3 separate regions of the Homo sapiens genome follow, and all the other regions are linked to region 1. The links are contacts of gene promoters, found by promoter capture Hi-C in blood cells and fetal thymus (Javierre and others, 2016). All regions are on one chromosome and are shown on one strand. The core of a region is centred on a gene start or on the middle of the fragment in contact, and the rest is flanking DNA. Distances in the headings are between cores, read along the strand shown. Region 1 holds the start of CCDC174 (coiled-coil domain containing 174). Region 2 has its middle 3.3 kb from the start of MKRN2. Region 3 overlaps TSEN2 (tRNA splicing endonuclease subunit 2).

Region 1 (3,983 bases), core at 653-3,152:
TGAATATTAGTACCTTTCCCTCAGCTACATTAATTACCCCTGCCTACTCTGCAAAAAAGGATATAACAACAGTTTCCTTTTTAATGGTCCAGGTACAGCTGCTTATATGGATGGGCATTTGTAAATCAGATACTTCATCACTGTCTTAATCATCAGATACTTAAAAAAATCACTTTATTTGTTAAGGAAGATAAAAATGGCTGGGTTCAATTTCCGTTTTGGAAGAAATCGATTTAAAAGGTAACCATTTAATAATGCAAAGGGCAGTTTCACTGCAGACCCTAATACTGGAAATTTTTAAAAACAAATGAAAAACTTCTACTTTTTCTTCTAAGCTTACTTAACCACACCAAATTTTCCAGCCACATATCTTCCTAGTCTACAACTGCCTTTAACTTTAAGAGATGCTCAAAAAAATGTAAATTCTCAAATAGCATTCTTATTACAATTACTGCTAACCTGTCAGTATAGGTTGGCTTTAATATTTATAGCTTTCTGGTTCCTGATCTTCAAACAAAATAATAACTGGTACCAATTTTAACCAATAATAGTTACCAATAATAACTAGTACTCAAATATTGGGACACCTATATGTTTTCCTTCCTACTCACTTTGTGTCCTAATACTCTGAAGTAAATTCAAGATTAAATCAAAGGTTGGGCAATTTGCTCTGATGATGAAAAGGCAGCAGCTTTGGAGTCAAGTAGAGTGAGTGAGAAAGGGTCTATCACTAAGATTTCTTCCCCCCGCCCCCCGCCCCTTAGACGGAGTTTCGCTCTTGTTGCCCAGGTTGGAGTGCAATTGCGCGATCTCGGCTCACCGCAACCTCCGCCTCCCCGGTTCAAGCGATTCTCCTGCCTCAGCTTCCCGAGTAGCTGGGATTACAGGCGTGCACCACCACGCCCGGCTAATTTTTTTATTTTTAGTAGAGACGGGGTTTCTCCATGTTGGTCAGACTGGTCTCAAACTCCCGACCTCAGGTGATCTGCCCGCCTCAGCCTCCCAAAGTGTTGGGATTACAGGCGTGAGTCACCGCGCCCGGCTATCACTAAGATTTCTGTCTGTAAGCTGGGGAAAGCTACTTCATCTTTCCAGGCCTCAATTTCATCATCCATAAAACGGAGATATTAATAGCACCTACCTCCTAAAGCCATTGGGAGGATTCAATGAGATAGTGCATATAAAGTGCTGGCACAAAATGTGTACTTAGAACAAGTTTTCTTTCTAGAGTAGCTGATGTAATAAATCTGCTTACATCCTTTCAGACCTCACAACTCCCTATGCCTGCATTAACAACTGTTTAGTTCCAGGGAGGGCACGCTGGACACTTTCGGGTCCTGCGAAATATGTCACACTCTAAAGTTCTGGGAGGACTTTGTGGGTCCCTGGATGGAGGAGAAACCAGGAAGAGGATATGTCTGCATAGCAAAAAGAAGCTAGGGTTCCTCCTGACTGTAAGGGAGAAGGCTGACGAGGTGCAGGTCCTTGTGGGCAGGGCAGAGGTGAGGCACGGAGTTTCCTAACCCACGGGACACCAGGTTCAGATCCGTGTCCGAGGGTTCTGGCCCGGGCGCATGTCAGAGGAGAGTAGCCCAATTCAGGGTCCTGTAAGAAAACTGAACCGGATCCCCGCCGGAGAAGAAAATCCAGTTCGGGGGTTCCTGTTTGAGGGGAGAGGTCAGGTCTCTGGGTCCCCGAGTGAAGAAACAAGCTAGGTCGACATTCTTGTCTGATGGAGACACGGTGAACCCGGAGCCCGTGGAGTTACCTCATACCCTCACTCACCGAGGAGGCCGTGACGTCCAAAGGCTTTTTCCTACGGTCCATGGTCGTGGCAGAGGGTCCCGGTCCAGGAAGGACCCTTTCTACCCGACACAGGCCTCGTAAGCCTACCTCCGTCGCAACCGGAAGTGTCTTCGACAGCGACACTGAGTTTGCGTGAGTTTGCGACGCGAGTTTGTCAGCTCAGCGCCATCTTGAGAAGGTCAGAGTGTGGTGCGTATTACGTTCACCATCATTTTGGAAAGGTCATAGAGTGCGGAGGTTGACGCTAACTGCTAAGGTCATCTTGAGGGCGGAAGGTAACAAGGATTGGTGTGGGCGCCATCTTGAGAAGGGCGGAATAAAGCTTTTGATTGCGATGGACGCCATATTGGGTGGGGCGGATGTGGGGTTGGCGACAAAGATAACGCCATCTTGGGGAAGGCTGACGCTTAAGTAAGTGAACTCGAGCGTCTCGGGAAAGGTGGATTGGGAGGACCGGAAGAATCTTAACTGCAATTCCAGGACCTGCTGCCTGGCACTTTTCACACGTTAAATAGTTGGTTCTTAAAAGAGCGTACGAGATAAGGATTATTATATTAATCTTAGTAGAAATAACAAGAATAATAGCTAACATTAATGTAGTGCTTATTATGGGCCACTTTACATATTTCAGCTCTTAAGAACGTGAACTCCTGGGCCGGGCGCGGTGGCTCACGCCTGTAATCCCAGCACTTTGGGAGGCTGAGGCGGGTGGATCAGGAGGTCAGGAGTTTGAGACCAGCCTGACCAACATGGTGAAACCCCGTCTCTGCTGAAAATACAAGAAAAAAAAAAAATTAGCCGAGCGTGGTGGTGCGCGCCTGTATTCCCAGCTACTCAGGAGGCTGAGGCAGAAGAATCGCTTGAACCTGGGAGGTGGAGGTTGCAGTGAGTCGAGATCAAAAAAAAAAAAAACAAAGAACACGTGAACTCGAAAGCTGACTTTCTGGGTTGGAATCGCTCTTCACGGCTTACTGCTTGTGTGACCTTGGGCAAGTTACTTAACTTCCGTGTGCCTCAGTTTCCAAAGGGGGATATAATTTTATTTACCTAATGGGTCTTAGTGAGGATTAGATGAGTTAAATGAGCTAGTCTTGATAAAAATGTTAATGATTATGGTAGACAGACCAATCACCCTCACCCCGACTCCCAGATGTCTACCTTCTAATCCCCAGAATCTGGGTATATGGTGACCTTTATATAGCAAAAGAGAATTGGCAGAGATGATGAAATTAAAGCGATTGAGATGGGGAGCTAGCCTGGATTGTGCAGGTGGGTCCCCTATCATCAAAACCATCCTTATAAGGGGTAGACAGGATGGCCAGAGTCAGACAGAGATCAGAGATGCTTTGAAGAGGGAGAGTGGGACCACATGCCTAGGTATGCAGGAGGCCGCTAGAAAAAGCAAAGAAATGAGCCCTCCTCCAGAGTCTCCAGAAGGAATGCAGCATTGCTGACACGGTGATTTTAGTCTTGTAACACTCATCTCAAACTTCTGACTTCCAGAACTCTACCAGAATACGTTTGTGTTGTTTTAAGCCACCAAACTTGTGGCAATTTGTTACAGCAGCAAGACGAAAGTGATCATAATGATTGTAACAGTGGCATTTAGTATATGTGGGGCATGTGTATGACTCTTTGCATAGATTATATTATATAATCCTTGCAAGAATCCTAGAAGCGGACCTATTATCCACCATATTAGAGAGAAGAAAAATGAGACTCATCACATCCTCATCTCATCTGTCTTTATGGAGAAAATGGGAAAAGGGAAAAGGAGAGGGGAATTGAGGCAGTTGACTGTGTTCAGTCTTATTTATTTATTTTCATTTGTTTATTTCTCCAAGTCCGCCAGTCTCTGAAATTAGAACAGTAAGCAATATGAGATAATCGGGCCTAATAATGTTGTGATTCTCTTTTCTTAATGGAGTGGAATGTTCTGTCCCCACAAGAAGGATTATACCTTATAGACTTGTCTTGTTCAGATTCTGTATTTACCCATTTTACTGAAACACATACTAAATTCCATGTGTTTTTGTTACAAATCTTCTGAAAGAAAATGTGAAACATTAAAAGGTATTAATAATAATTTTTTTTAAAAGGAAAAAAAATGAGGCTCAGTTGCTTAAATGGCATGCCAGGGGTCATTTCCCAGCTAGCAAGTGAAGGAGCCTTCAGTT
Region 2 (3,891 bases), core at 1,392-3,891, 2.1 Mb after region 1:
CTGCAGTCGAGGCTGCAGGGGGTGGGTGGGGGCTGGATATTATCGACACCCCAGAAGGGCTTCCTTATGGTCCTTCCCAGGCAATACTTTACAAAGGTCATTGCTTGGGTTCATCTCTATCACTATAAATTAGTTTAACTGTTCTTGACTTTCATATAAATAATAATTCAGTACCTACGCTTTTGTCTGCCTTCTTTTGACCAACATTTTATCTGTGAGATCTTTCCATGTTATGTATGTATAGCTGTATGTTCTTTTTTTACTTTGCTATAAAAATATTGAGTCTTCCAATGAATGAGCATGGTATATACTTCCAATTATTTAGAACTTTTGAAATTTTTCTCAGGAATTTGGAAGTATACTGGAAATTTTGTTTTCAGTGTCTTGAATATTGCATTTTAACTCATAACACATTTGATCCATGCAATTCATGCTCATAAAAATTACACGTCTTTTTTTTTTTTTTTTTTGAGACGGAGTCTTGCTCTGTCACCCAGGCTGGAGTGCAGTGGCATGCTCTTGGCTCACTGCAACCTCCACCTCCCGTGTTCAAGCGATTCTCCTGTCTCAGCCTCCGGAGTAGCTGGGATTATACAGGCGCACGCTGCCACGCCCAGCTGATTTTTTGTGTTTTAGTAGCGACGGGGTTTCACCCTGTTGCCCAGGCTGGTCTCGAACTTCTGAGCTCAGGCAATCCACCCGCCTCGGCCTCCCAAAGTGCTGGGATTACGGGCGAGAGCCACCGCGCCCAGCCCATGCCACTTATTTTTAAAATTCAGCTTATCTCATTCTTTATGGAATACATTCACGATCTGAACGTTATTATGTTCAAATATTTTAAAAGCGTAAAGTGAAAAGTCTCAGTCTCCTGTCAATTTAGTTCCCGCCTCTTCAAAACAAAAAGCAGAAACATTTTTTAAAACCTCAAAACCTGGCCACTGTTATCAAATTTGTATACATCTTTCCAGAATTTCTTTAAATATACACAAGTAAATACATATATATTATTTTCTCCTTTTTGTAGAAAAGATAACATAACGTACTGTTCTGCACAGCGTACATAATCAGTGGAGATTTTTCCATATCAGTACATAGAGCCTCTTCCTCCTTTCGTAGAACTGTATAGTATTCCGTTGTACGACTATGCCATAAGTTATTTCATCAGCCTTGTACTGCTGGTGCCCTTTAGGGTGTCTGTGCAAATAAAACACTGGATCGGGCACATGTTCTCAGGATCTCCTGAGGTCTGTGTCATGGGCAATATATATATATATTTTTATATTTCATATATATTTCATATATTTCATATATATTTATGAAAAAATAATACAACACTGGATCAACGACAGCCAGTGTGCACTTCCACAAGCTGTACCCAACAGCTTGGTTCCTGCCACTGTCATGGTACTTAGCACTTAGACTTTTCCCGAAGGATGCAAGCAGTCTCCACTTGGGGTTCTTCCGGCGTTATCTGGCGCTGGGCACTAAACACCAAGTCCTGCCCCACCCGGGACGTGGAACTCACTTTCCTCACCCCCAGGGAACCCGCGCTGGCAGAGAAGGCAGGGCCACTCGCTCCTGCCCGTAGCAGGGGCGCGTAAAACTGCGTCTGCTTGCTAACCACCAGCTCCCGTTCTCGCCCCTTAGGAAAAGCAACTTTGCTACCAAACACTCGGGAGAAAAAGGCTATCAGATAGAAGCGGGTGAAGAAGCTGAGAAAACAGAAGAGAAGGGTGGCTGCCAGCTCGGGACTCAAAATGGCCATCTGGGCGTAGAGACACAGAGACCCTTTGCGCAGACGTGCGCCGAGGGTCTTGCAAAGCTTTCGTTTTCTTTGTGTGCCGACCTGCCCCTAGAAGCGGTTTTCGATGCTATTTTAAATGATATTCCTAAAATTTCCGAATTGCTTGTTGCTTATATATAGAAATACACTGGATCTTTGTATACTGACTTGGGATTCAGCTCCATGCTAAATTTTGAATTAATTCTAATGGTTTATTTGTAGTTAGTTATCGATTTTCTATACACAATCACGCCATCAGCAAATAATGACAGTTTTGCTTCCTTTTCATCTTTGTATCTTTTATTTCTTTTCCTTGCCTTATTGCATGCACTGTCTACAGCCTTCAGAACAATGTTAAAGAGAAGTAGTAATAGTGTACATCTTATTTTGTTCCTGGATTCAATAAAAATATTTAATATTTTACTTTAAAATTATTTAATATTTTAATTAAAATGTTAGCCCTAGATTTTTTTAGGCTATCCATTGCCAAATTAAGAAAGTTTCTTTCTAGTTTTATTAGCATTTTTACCATGAACACATCTTGACTTTTATCACTTTTTTTTTTGCATGTATTGAGAAACCTATATTGTTTTTCCCTTTTATACTGGTAATGTATTGAATTATACTGATTGATTTTTAATGTTAACCCTACCCAATTGCTCAGGATAAACCCCACATGGCCATGATATATTTTCTATAAATCATCTATTTGTTAAAATTGTGTTTAGAATTTTTGCATCCTTGTGTATGAGAGATATTAGTCTGTAGTGTTCCTTTCTTATAATGTCCATGCCAGGTGCTGGTATCTGGGATATGCTGGTCTCATAAAATGAGTTTGGAAGTCTTTCTTTTCTATCCTCTGGAAAAGTCTGTGTAATATGGGTATTAATTTTTCCCTTAAACATCTGGAAGAATTTACCATGGAAGCCATCTCAGCCTGCAGTTTACTGTGCAGGAAGATTTTTTTTTTTTTTTTTTTTTTGGAGACCGGGTCTCACTTTGTCACCCAGGCTGGAGTGCCGTGGTGTGATCTTGGCTCACTGCAACCTCCACCTCCTGGTTTCAGCCCCTCAAGTAGCTGGGGCTACAGGTGTGCGCCAGGCATGCTCCACCACTCCTGGCCAATTTTTGTATTTTTTGTAGACAGGAGATCTCACTATGTTGCCCAGGCTGGTTTCAAACTCCTGAGCTCAAGAAATTTGCTCACCTTGGCCTCCCAAAGTGCTAGGATTACAGGCATGAGCCACCATGCCCAGCCTGCAGGATGATTTTTAATTAAAGATTTAAATGTGGGGCATGGTGGCTCACACCTGTAATCCTAGCACTTTGGGAGGCCCAGGTGAGCAAATCACCTGAGGTCAGGAGTTCAAGACCAACCTGGCCAACATGGAGAAACCCCGACCCTACTAAAGATACAAAATTATTCAGGTGTGGTGGTGCATGCCTGTAATCCCAGCTACTCGGGAGGCTGAGGCAGGAGAATCGCTTGAACCCGGGAGGCAGAGGTTTTGGTGAGCTGAGATGGCGCCATTGCACTCCAGCCTGGACGACAGAGTGAGACTCCGTCTTAAAAAAAAAAAAAAATTAAAAATTAAAAAAAATTAAAATATCTAATTGCTTTCTTATATATAAAGCTATTCAGATTTCATTGTTTTATGGGAGTTTTGGAAAGCTTTTTTTTTTGAGATGGTCTTGTTCTGTTGTTCAGGCTGAAGTGCAGCGGCACGATCTCAGCTCACTGCAACCTCCGCCTCCAGGGTTCAAGCAATTCTCTGCTTCAGCCTTCCAAGTAGCTGGGATTACAGGCGCCCACCACCCCGCCCAGCTAATTTTTTGTATTTTTAGTAGAGACAGGGTTTCACTATCTTGGCCAGGCTGGTCTTGAACTCCTGACTTGGTGATTCACCTGCCTCGGCCTCCCAAAGTGCTGGGATTACAGGCGTGAGCCACCGTGCCCAGCCTTCTTTGTTTTTTGTATCGGAGCATTTAGTCCATTTACACTAAATGTAATATAGCTGGATTTAAATGTATCATCTTGATTTTTTTTTCTTTTTTCTGAGACAGAGTCTCACTCTGTCTCCCAGGCTGGAGTGCAATGGTGTGATCTC
Region 3 (3,880 bases), core at 677-3,176, 2.2 Mb after region 1:
GCCGAGGTGGGCAGATCACTTGAGGTCAGGGGTTCAAGACCAGCCTGGCCAACATGGTGAAACCCTGTCTCTACCAAAAAATACAAAAATTAGCCAGGCATGGTGGCATGCGCCTGTAGTCCCAACTACTCGGGAGGCTGAGGTGGTAGAATCACTTGAACCTGGGAGGTAGAGGTTGCAGTGAGCTGAGATCATGCCACTGCACCCTAGTCTGGGTGACAGGGTAAGACTCTGTCACAAAAAACAAACAAAAAAAACACCCAGCAACAACAAAAACCAAGAATAAATAATGCATACAGCACTTTATAAAGCCTCTTGCTTAATGTTATATACTGTAAATGAAGGCCTCCCTGGTGAGCTGCCCTTGGCCTACTGAGACTCCTGCCTCACCATGGCCAGTGCCACCCACTCTTCTATCAAGTGTCTAGAGAAGGCACATTTATGGAGACAAGACGCCATTCCGTGGCTGCCTTGGGCCGGGAGTGGGAGCAGGGATTAAGTGTGATGGGCACAAGGGAACTCTGTGGTGATGGGAATGTTCTAAAACTGGACTGTGGTGAGAGTTGTGCAACTCTATAAATTTATGACAATCACTGAATTGTATACTTACAATGGGAGGACTTTATAGTTGTAAATTATAACTCAATAAAGCTGTTTTTTAAAAATGCCCACAGCAATGAACAGATTATGGAAAATTTTTTTTAAAGAACTACCAGTCTTCATTCAACTTGATCAATGCTGGAAAACAGTAAAAACTAGAACTTGTCCTCATCTGAGAAGAGGTCCCCAACCAGGAGGCAGCAGATAAGGAGCTCCATGCCAAAGCCCCATCTGATCCGTGCCTGAGTAGGGACACTATGCCACGCTGTGGCTACCTCTGGGAACGGGATGGGAGTGAGTGGGGAATTTTCACTTTTTTACCCATTACATTTCTGTAAATTACTTTTTTTGTTCCTTTAACAAACATGCATTGCTTTTACAACTAAAGACAAAAAAAATAGTCAATCCATTGAACCTACTTCATCACTGAAATAAAGGTTTGTGGGCAGGGGTGCTCCATCTGTCATTCTATTACCCTAACATATGGCTTTTGGGCACTAATTCAAATTGTACTTTTCCTACAACTGGACCAAACCGCAAGGAAAGAATACACATTGTTCATGGTTGGTGTGGGGGTATGGCTGGGATGGGGAGAAGGAAAGGACTGCTTGCTCAGGGTTGTCTGAAAGTAATCTTACCAAGGCTGCCTGCACTTACTTTCCCATAGAGCTGCTCAATGTCCTCCGCATTCCTCACAATCACATTGTTGTTAATCATTTCAGCACGGAATATCTTGAATTCTTTCAGAGGACCATGGTCCTGACCAAAAGGGATTGGCAATGGAGACTCGTAAGTCTCATACACTCTTCTTTTCCTCTTTGGGGCATGGAAAACTGCTTCTGCCATTTTTCAGAGGAGGTATTCTTTAAAGAGTAGACAACAAACAGAAAGAAACAGACAATCAATAACTACCTTGATCCAAAATGTGAGTACATCTGTACCTAGGCTCAGAAAACTTAGTGGTCTGTGGGAAGAAATAGAGTATTTATAAAGCAATAAACTAAAAGCAGTAAGAACAGTTTGTGTGAGCAATGTAAATCATATTGACCTAGAATACTGCAATTAATCCCCACAATAAACCCCAGGAAATGAGTGGTAATCTTTCTACTCCAGCTGACAACGCTGAGACCTAGTGACATGCCCAAAGCTGCAATGTTAGGTCTCCTGAGAGCAAGCACAACAGGATTTCTGTCTACCAGGAGTGCTTCCATTTCACTCACCCAACAGACATTTACTACCAGGAATTCCTAATAATCATAGGTGCTGGGGAGACAAAGACAAAACTGAGACCCTGTCCTCAACAAATTAAATCTTGCAGGCACTTCATTTTCCAAGAGGATCTTACAATACACACTAAACATTGGGTCAATCAGCTCCCAATTTTTAAAGTACATTAATAAATAATAATGACAGCAGCAGTTATTTAAGGGTCGATTATATACTACCAAATGCTACTGGCTTCAAGCAGGGACTCTAAAGCCAGACTATCAGCATCAGAATCAACTTTACCACTTCCTAGCAGTGTGATTTTGGGCAAAAGTCACTGACTCTCTCTGTGATTTAGTTTCCTCACCTGCAAAATCAAGATAAGAACGACTCTATCTTACAGTTAAGATCCATAAAGTGCTTAGAACAGTACCTGGCACATAGCGTGTACCATTCATGTATCAGCTATAATTAGTATTACAGGGTGAGCAGTAGCAACACCATTTTACAAATAGGAAACAGATTCAGGTTAGAGAGATTTGTAGACGACCCCGAGTGTGGTGGCATCGGGTGACCCAGGTCTGTTGAACTCCCAAGCCCATGCCCTCTCTCTAGATTCTGCTGAAAGCACAGGCAGGGTCTATCTACTTTTGTCTGATGACTCTTTCTCAAAATCAGACGGTGAAGGGTTATTGAGCAGTAACGGAATTACCCACTGTGCACCCAGCACCATGAGGGAGAACAGAAAGCCAAAGCCAGTACGTGTCCCTCTGGGGCCATACATTGGATCCAAGGAGACAAAACAAGTATATAACATAGCTGGAAGCACAGAAAGCAGGTTGGAGCTAACGGAACTGGCTGTTATCCACTAATGTCTAAAGGAGGGAAGTAAATGTGAACATATTGTGTGATGCAGACACAGAGATACAGTAGATGCACTTAACCTAGGAAAACGTAACCATATACATGGGAAAACAATGTAAATGGTGCAAGACATTCCACTCGAGGAGCAGCTGTCCTGGAATGAGATGGGAAACTTGAATCTGCTGCTCCCCCAGTACTAGGTCTAGACTTGATTTCAACTGAGAGCTTACCTGGTGCTTGAAGATACAGTGCGGCCAAATCATACACACGTTTAACCTACATGACTCCGAATCCTCACAAGGGAAAAAATAAGACTAATTACTTAGGTGGCTCCTGCACTCAGTACTTGCATCCCATTGGCAAGGGATGCCATCAAGCCTGAAACAGTCAAGAAGGTGGCCAAAACTGAGGGAGGGGAAGGTGAGTGGCTTTAAGAGTGTCATGACCATTAAGAAAAGGCTTATCCAACGTGTGATGATATCAGTATCCAACTTCTCAAGGAAGAAGCTGAGGAATTATATGAGGACACAGAAAAACACAGACTAAAGAGGAGTTAGAGGAAATGATACATCAATTACAAAGATAACCATGAAAAAGAAGAATCGGGAAGTTGGAACCTTCCTAGAATTGCCATTGTTCTAAGCAGCAACATGCTAGATTAATTTCTAAATAAGGTTCCTTGAAGGAATTACATACTGAGCATTACTTTGTACATTTTATATTTATGCATGCATCTTGCTGTATAGTGTTTATAACAAAACCACGTCTACTGCATGCTCACAGGAAACCTAAGAGATTTTCTTAAGAGCATATTTAGACTAGGCTTTACCTTGCTTGCTGACTTATCCCTCAGCCCAAGTACTAAATTATCACATTTAGTACTCAATTGGAGAGACAATAATTTATTCTAAAACTGAAAATAAACACTGCTTTTTGGGGGCAGGATGTTGGTCTCTAGTAAGGCACTTTTTGAAAGACTTCCAGGAATGGTTTGGACTTTTATGGGATTTTTCACTTTTATAACCTCTGCTCAGCAGCTGACTTATATACATTACATTCGGAATTTTAAAAAAATGAAAAAAGATTTAATGGCCACCTTCAAGAAGTTCTAATAAATTCTCTCAACAAATAAGAGTTGTATTTTAGTCTGCCTCATTTGTTCAGCGTTTTTCCCTCTCAGACTGCTGTCACATCTAAAAAAGGCAAGATT

The links. The method cuts DNA at HindIII sites, captures the fragments that hold promoters and counts their contacts. A CHiCAGO score of 5 or more calls a contact.
Region 2: a contact is called between a fragment that was not itself captured here and the fragment with the promoter of CCDC174 in region 1, in 9 of 17 cell types (total B cells, total CD8 T cells, naive CD4 T cells and 6 more). The highest score is 14.7, in total B cells.
Region 3: a fragment that was not itself captured here is called in contact with the fragment with the promoter of CCDC174 in region 1 in 9 of 17 cell types (total CD4 T cells, non-activated CD4 T cells, naive CD4 T cells and 6 more); the score reaches 18.8 in total CD4 T cells.

The regions. Positions count from the first base shown.
Region 1 is chr3:14,649,681-14,653,663 of GRCh38, reverse strand. It overlaps CCDC174 (coiled-coil domain containing 174), which reads right to left and starts at 1,902. Exons shown (of 11, transcript NM_016474.5): 1 at 1,786-1,902. The coding sequence starts at 1,827. LOC124909347 (a long non-coding RNA gene) reads left to right here and starts at 1,543. Exons shown (of 2, transcript XR_007095826.1): 1 at 1,543-1,995; 2 at 2,438-3,983. RefSeq lists enhancers at 1,590-1,659, 1,800-2,199, 1,703-2,361. The HindIII fragment of the contact is 1,793 bases long and covers 338-2,130 here.
Region 2 is chr3:12,551,891-12,555,781 of GRCh38, reverse strand. It overlaps a transcript of MKRN2OS not described here. Among named protein-coding and RNA genes, the nearest start is that of MKRN2, 3.3 kb to the left of the region's middle. The HindIII fragment of the contact is 1,633 bases long and covers 1,825-3,457 here.
Region 3 is chr3:12,487,367-12,491,246 of GRCh38, reverse strand. It overlaps TSEN2 (tRNA splicing endonuclease subunit 2), which reads right to left. Exons shown (of 12, transcript NM_025265.4): 2 at 1,258-1,463. The coding sequence starts at 1,446. Among named protein-coding and RNA genes, the nearest start is that of TSEN2, 4.8 kb to the right of the region's middle. The HindIII fragment of the contact is 5,707 bases long and covers 1-3,880 here.